Regions from separate parts of the Homo sapiens genome. Here region 1 is linked to region 2. The links are contacts of gene promoters, found by promoter capture Hi-C in blood cells and fetal thymus (Javierre and others, 2016). All regions are on one chromosome and are shown on one strand. Each heading gives the region's core, a stretch centred on a gene start or on the middle of the fragment in contact. The rest is flanking DNA. Distances are from core to core; before and after follow the strand shown. Region 1 holds the start of CLEC12B (C-type lectin domain family 12 member B). Region 2 has its middle 5.7 kb from the start of KLRF1.

Region 1 (3,749 bases), core at 862-3,361, 190 kb after region 2:
AAATAAGGAGAATTTGGTAAATGACTGCAACAAAGTGAGTTTTTAAATAGTGTAACTGATAAAATAAGCTACAGAAATGCTGTAAGTTTTTAAGGGAGAAAAGTATATAAAGAAATGTCTAAATTAATATGATCATACACTAATAATGATAGATGATATAGCTTTTTGGATCATAATAATAGAAAGTATGTGAGAAGTGTTATCAATCTTCTCTTAGAAATAATTAGGAATCAGGTGACATTCTTCATCATTGTTCAAGCTAAGCATCATTTCATGGATAGTGAGAAGTTAATACTTTGTTAGGAAGCTTTAAGGTATGTGAAAGAATTAAGGAAATGAGGATGAAAACCCAGTTTTTGCAAAATCTGGTGAAAGTCATGAGACGTGAGGCCAGCCAGACTTCCTGAATCGAGTGGGGACTCAGGGAACTTTCCTGTCTTACAAGAGGATTGTAAAACGCACCAATCAGTGCCACGTAAAACGCACCGATCAGCGCTCTGTAAAACGCACCAATCAGCAGGATTCTAAAAGTAGCCAATTGCGGTGAGGATTGAAAAAAGGTCAGTCTGATACGACAGAAACGGAACATGGAGGGGACAGTAAGGAAATAAAAGCTAGCCACCCCAGCCAGCAGCAGCAACCCGCTTGGGACCCCTTCCATGCTGTGGAAGGTTTGTCATCCTGCTCTTCACAATAAACCTTGCTACCACTCAGTCTTTGGGTCCGTGCCATCTTTAAGAGGTGTAACCCTCACCGCAAAGGTCCGCGGCTTCATTTTTGAAGTCAGCGAGACCAGGAACCCACCGGCAGGAACCAACTCCGGACACGGACCAGAACAGAGATAGAAAACCATTCTTAATTTCTTATTTTTGTAATCATCTATTTAAACTGGTCCTCATGTCAATGGTCTCTGCCTTTTCTGAATTCAACTAGAATAGTAAACATAAGCATAGATTTATTATTTGTTTCAATATTTTTGATAGTGGAGTTTTATTGATATATGACTTAGAGCCTCCAAACATTTTTTTGATTATTTCATCAATTTGAAAAAAAAAAAAACAAAAAACATGAACAAGTAACATATGTATATTTAGGTGTTTAGAGATCATGCACAGCGTTCCTAAAGAGAAAGTTTTTACATTGCCTTTCTGCATCTGCTTCACAGCTGTGGGGTGAGTGCACCTCACGCTGGACACCTTTGACTAAGATAATCTCCACACAGATATGAACCTTGGAAGTTTTAGATCACTCCCCACTCATCTGAAACCACAAAACTCATACCCAATCCTTCCCCTAAGTACAGTTATCTAATATTCTGCCTCTCCCCAAAGGAAAGCTTTAGAGGAGATTCCTTAATTTCGTCCCTCATATATAGCGCTCCCCCCCCATATTTTCCTGGGTTCTGTATTAACTACATATTGCTGCTGTAACAAATTACCACAGATGTATTAACTTCCGGTAGTTATCTTTTTAAAATCTTGTCCTGTGTATTCCTTGCTGTCTGCAGGATTATCCCATGGTTGTTGTTCTGTTAGGAACTTTCCCAACCATGCCAGAAGAGGGCACTCCCATTCATACTCACGTTAAGTAGCTAAGTAGCTATCAGTTTCTTCTCCATGCTCCATTACCAACACCATGTCTCTCTCTCTCTGTCTCTCTCTCTCTGTCTCTCTCTGTCTCTCTCTCACACACACACACACACACACACACACACACACACACGCTTGAATTTTCTATAATAGCAGCCAGGTGTGTGGCACAGCTCTTTCTGTCTTAATGTGTGTCTCTCTGCTTAATATCTAATGTGGCTGAGAATAAACTAGAACCAATGTCTCCAGGCAGATTAGCTAGCCTTAGATAGATGTAAAGAAGACAACCTGACTCTTTTCTGAAACATTCAGAGCATCCTCTACCCCGAGGATCATGGGAATTCCCTCATGTTCCTCCTGCTCTGCCTCAAGCACCCCTTCTTTGCTGCACAGCAAGAAACAGTTCTGACAGAGCAGACAGTTTGAGATCTGTAACATTCTAATGAGAATATCTCTAAGGAGAATATTTGGCTTTTCTCACTTTCTCTGTAGAGAAACAAATTGTCATTCTTCTCTTACAGAGGGGCAGTAGAGTGTGTCTGGGTCAGCTGAGTGACTACATCAAAGCTCCCAGCCTTGAAAAACACATGCTGTTCCCAGGCCTCAAGATATTGAAACATTAATTAGATAATTTAAAGTAGCGTTTTCTTCTACAATGTCTGAAGAAGTGACCTACGCGACACTCACATTTCAGGATTCTGCTGGAGCAAGGAATAACCGAGATGGAAATAACCTAAGAAAAAGAGGTAGGAGTTCAGAGAAGACCAGCTGTGTCCTTGGGGGAGTGGACAGGTGTTAAATGCTTTGAGGTGCCAGCTTTAATACTGGCGTTAAAGACATGTGCTGTGAAATCTCCAAAATGGGGACAAATAGTTGTGGAATGTATTAGAAAAGTGAGTGTTCCCAAGGTTGAAGTGAAAATATGTGGCTTTCAGAACCTCTTTAAAGTTGTGTGATATCACACAGTCAGAGAAATTCTGACTGCACATGCCAGAAATTGAGCTTGGGGAATTAGAGATTTCTTCTTATGAATATAATCCTTGATATTTATACCTTGTTAGAGATGCCAGGAGGATATTCTTTCAGAAACCAGATTGGAGGCTTCTAAAATAGAGAAGGTAGAGGACGTTTTTCTTTTAGATGATGTAAGTTACTTAAGAGAAAACTGGAAGATGAGTGAGTGGATTAGAAATAGATCAGAGCTAATTTTTCTTTTGTCAGTATTTTTTCAAATTTTAGGGTAGTTGAAATCCGAGCATAATTTGTAATGTTGAACCAGTAATAATAGTATCTGGGTAGTATTTTATGTACATTATATACAGATATAATTGTAATGAAAATCCACAATAATATTCGAATATTAGTATTTTCTCCATTACATAGATGAAAAAACTGAGGGTGAGAGAAATTAGATAATTTAAGCAAGCTCACACAACTGCTATGTGGGGAAGCCCAGTCTCAGTGCTGGTCTTCAGCTCATTCTCTTATGCCTAATTGGAAAAATAGCAGTCTCCATGGTCAAGACTCTGATTTAATATATAAGACCACATCTCTTATTTTCAGATATGTTAACTATCCAGGTTCTCCTGAATCATGTCAGTCATCTGAACTACTTTCTCCTGCCCTCTAGATTTATCTTTACATTTTGTGTGGTGCATGACATTTGAGGGAAGGATATTTACAAAAAGCCGATGGGAATAGACTTTGCATATGTCTAATAAATGTGGTTACACATTTTTGCCTTGTTTTGTTTTACTTTTTAATTCTAATTCTAACCTGTGAGGAAAAAGGAGGTGTGGATATGGTGCATATCACAGTGTACCTAGAGTCTGTCATGCTGTATCTAAAACATTGCGCTAGATGTTATTTGGACCTAAATCAAGGGATATGAAGCTAAGGAAAACATGACAACCATTGATATTTTAAACAACAACAATGACTAGGATGCTAACGGCTTTCTGGTCTATTCTGCTGTTTGTAGGTTAGACTGCACATTCTTTCCTTCTTTCATTCAGTATTCATTCATTATTTATTAGGTGATAAATAGCATGAATAATAGATAAGTTATTGTTAACAGGTAAAAGATACTTTAAAAAGTCGAATCCACTTTTACAAGGCAGATAGAACATGTGCCTTATAGAGACTTTTGAGCTCAAAAGC
Region 2 (3,803 bases), core at 326-2,825:
AGGGAAAGGCAGGCTGCCATTTGTGCTGCTTCACAGCCTTCACTGTTGTCACTTTTGGGCGTTGGAGAGTCTGAGGTTATGAGGGGGCTGGTTGGACCCTCAACACAGCACAGCTGCTTTACAAGAAAGTGGCCAGAGTGCTTTTTTATAGCAGTCACTGATCCTGTTTCTCCTCACTGGGTGTGACCACCCAACTGGGATCACCAGCCACCCTCACCAGTGTGTTTGGGCCAGCAACATGTTGGAACCTCCCTGGGATGGAGCTCCCAGTGGGAGAGGCAGGCTGCCATCTTTGCTGTTTCACAGCCTTCACTGTTGATACCTTCAGGTACTGGAAAATCCGAGGTAACTAGGGACTGGAGTGGACTCCCAGAATACTGCAACAGCCCTGCAAGAATGGTGGCCAGATTGTTACATGACCAGACTGTTACCTTGATCCCGTATCTCCTCGCTGGGCGGGTCTTCTCAGCCTGGGCCTCCAGCCACCCCCTGCTGTGGCTCTCGAGCCAGTAGCAGCTCTGCCACTTCCTGGACAGAGTTCCCAGTGGGAGGGGAAGGTTGCCATCTTTGCCGTCTTGCATCCCTCGCTCTGTCTCCAGGCTCTGGAGAGTCTGTGGGGACCAGGGGCTGATCTGGCCCTCAGCACAGAGCACCCACCTCATGAATAAGTGGCTGGACTGTTCTCCACACACATGCTGGACCTCACTTCTCCTCCCTGGGCACAGCCGCTGGACATGGTACTGCAGCACAACCACCCTGCCCCCAACTTACCACTTCAATCAAAGGCAGCCCAGCATTTCTCTGAGGAGGAAATCACAGAGTCAACCCACAACCCCTCCACCACTGCAGTTGCAGCGGTGCTGCCTAATGGCCGTTGGGCTGGGGAAAGAACAAAGGGCCTAGTGACCACACTGGCCCCTCCAGCACACCACAGTCAACATACAGAAAGAGTCCAGCCCCTTTTCCCTGAGAACTTACACCCCCTAACTCTTCACCAGGCAGGGCCCCTGGCTCATGACCACAGAATGGTTGCCCCATACATGGCTGACCATACCCACTGGTAGTGGCTCAGAGTTCCCCTGGGGAGAGGCTTCCAGAGGCATCCAACAGCTCCTCTGCCACAGGGATAGAAACAGTTCTATCCCTGCTACCCTCAGTCTGGGGAAGAAACAAAGATCCTGAGGGCTACACTCAAGCTTACAGCATGCCACAGACACCATAGGGAGAGGAGACCATTCTCTCCTCCTGATTACTCTTAATCCTCTGCTCCCCAAAAAGTGGAATACCAAGCTCATGCCAGCAATGCAGCTGCCCCACCCCCATGGCTGAACACTTCCAGTAACAGCAGCTCTGCATTCCTCAGACATGAGACCCCCAGGGGCAACCAAAAGCCCATCTGCCACTGCCTCTGCAGCGGTACTACTCCTGCTACCCTCAGACTAATGAAGGAGCAAAGACCCTAACTACCTTATCCATACCCCCATCAAGCAACAGTCGACCCAAGGAGAGGAGCAAAGTTCATCTCCCACAGGTCCTGCACACTTCCCCTGCTCATCACCAAGCAGAGAAACCCTGGTTTGGGCCCATAGCACAGATACCCCCATCCTGGGCAGACTGCACTGAGCAATTGCTGACCCACACCTCTCTGGGGTAGAGCCCCTAGGAGGTAAATAAAAGACCTTCAGCCACAACCACTCCTAAGGTCCCTTCTGCTGCTGCCTCCAAGTTGGAGAGGAAACATAAACACTGAGATCACCCCAGAGCTGTGGGGGAAAGCCCAGGAATGACAAGCCATAATCTACAGCCAACACTCAAGTGGGAGAGGATCCCAAACTTTCAGAGCATTGAGAGGCAGCATGGCTGCAACTGTGAAGAAATATAAGGGAGCCACACAACTGATCAAGAGCCAACCAACTGAACACTCTGCCTAAGCACAACCTACTGCATCACATCCCAAAGCTTTAATACCAAACTACTTCACTAACATACCACCCACTCCACTATGAGACCAAAGACAAGTCAGTTGCAAGTAAAGACCCTGCACAAAGCCTCAACCCTGTGAATACATCCAGAAAAGAAGTCTACTGACTATATGCAATCTACATCATGGCTAAAGAAACACTCAAATGCAGAGAAGAGAAAGAAGCAACACAAGAACTCCAGCAACTCAAATGGCCAGAGTTTCTTATGTCCTCCAAATGACTGCGCTAGTTATCCAACAAGGGTTTTAAACCAGCAGAGCTGACTGAAATGACAGAAATAGAATTCCGAATATGGATAGAAATGAAGATCATCAGCATTCAGGAAAATGGTAAAACCCAATCCAAGAAAACTAAGAATCACACTAAAACAATACAAAAGCTGACAGACAGAATAACCACTATAGAAAAGAACCTAACTGATCTGCTAGAGCTGGAAAACACATTACAAGAATTTCACAATACAATTCCAAGTATTGACAGTGGAATTGACCAAGCTGAAGAACTTGAAGACTAGCCCTCTAAAATAAGACAGTCAGACAAAAACAAAGGAAAAAGAATGAAAAGGAAGGAACAAAATCTTTGAGAAATATAGGATTATGTAAAGGCGCCAAATCTACAAATCATCGACATCCCTGAAAGGGATGGGGAGATACAAGCTGGCATAATAACCAACTAACAATACAATGACAGGATCAAATCCACACATATGAATACTAACCTTGAATGTAAACAGACTAGCTGCCCCATTTAAAAGGTGCAGAGTGGCAAGCTGGATAAAAAATCAAAGCTCAATGGTATGCTATCTTCAGTAGAACCATCTCACACACAATGACACACAGGCTTGAAATAAAGGGATGGAGGAAAATCTAACAAGCAAATGAAAATCAGTAAAAAAAAACAGGGTTTGCAATCCTAATTTCAGACAAAACAGACTTTAAACCAATAAAGATGAAAAAAGACAAAGAAGGACATTACATAATAATAAATTCAATTCAGCGAGAAGACTTAACTATCCCAAATATATATGTACCTAGTACAGGAGCACCCAAATTCATAAAGCAAGTTCTTAGCTACAAAGAGTCTTAAATATTTACAAAATAATAGTGGGAGACTTTAACACTCCAGACAGGTCATCAAGGGAGCAAATTAACAAAGATATTCAGAACCTGAACTTGACATTGGACCAAATGGATTTGATAGACCTTTACAGTACTCCGAACCCAGAAAACCAGTATATACATTCTTCTCATTGCCACATGCCACATAATCTAAAATTGACCGCACAATTGAATGTAAAACAATTCTTAGCAAATGCAAAAAAAAAAAACAAAAACTCAAAAACCAAAAAACAAAAAAAGCAAAATCATGCCAAACACATTCTTGGACCACAACGCAATAAAAATAGAAATCAAGACAAAACAAATCACTCAAAACCATGCAATTACATGGGAATTAAACAACATGCTCCTGAATGACTTTGGGGATAAATAATGAAATTAAGGCAGACATCGAAACATTCTTTGAAACTCATGAGAACAAAGATACGACATACCAGAATCTCTGAGACACAGCTAAGGCAGTATTAAGAGAAAAACTTATAGCGCTAAACGCCTACACAAAAAAGTTAGAAAGATCTCAAATTTAACACTCTAACATATAACTAAAAGAACTGGAGAAGTAAGAGCCAACCAACCTCAAAGGTAGCAGAAGACTAAATATAACCAAAATCAGAGCTGAACGGAAAGAGATTGAGATACAAAAGAAACATCAAAAAGATCAACAAATCCAGGGGTTGGTTTTTTGGAAAAAAAAAAAAGTCTC

The links. The method cuts DNA at HindIII sites, captures the fragments that hold promoters and counts their contacts. A CHiCAGO score of 5 or more calls a contact.
Region 1: the fragment with the promoter of CLEC12B here is called in contact with a fragment that was not itself captured in region 2 in 1 of 17 cell types (neutrophils); the score reaches 5.8 in neutrophils.

Annotation. Positions count from the first base shown.
Region 1 is chr12:10,008,516-10,012,264 of GRCh38, forward strand. It overlaps CLEC12B (C-type lectin domain family 12 member B), which reads left to right and starts at 2,112. Exons shown (of 6, transcript NM_001129998.3): 1 at 2,112-2,335. The coding sequence starts at 2,245. The HindIII fragment of the contact is 2,412 bases long and covers 1,335-3,746 here.
Region 2 is chr12:9,819,928-9,823,730 of GRCh38, forward strand. It overlaps a transcript of KLRF1 not described here. Among named protein-coding and RNA genes, the nearest start is that of KLRF1, 5.7 kb to the right of the region's middle. The HindIII fragment of the contact is 763 bases long and covers 1,195-1,957 here.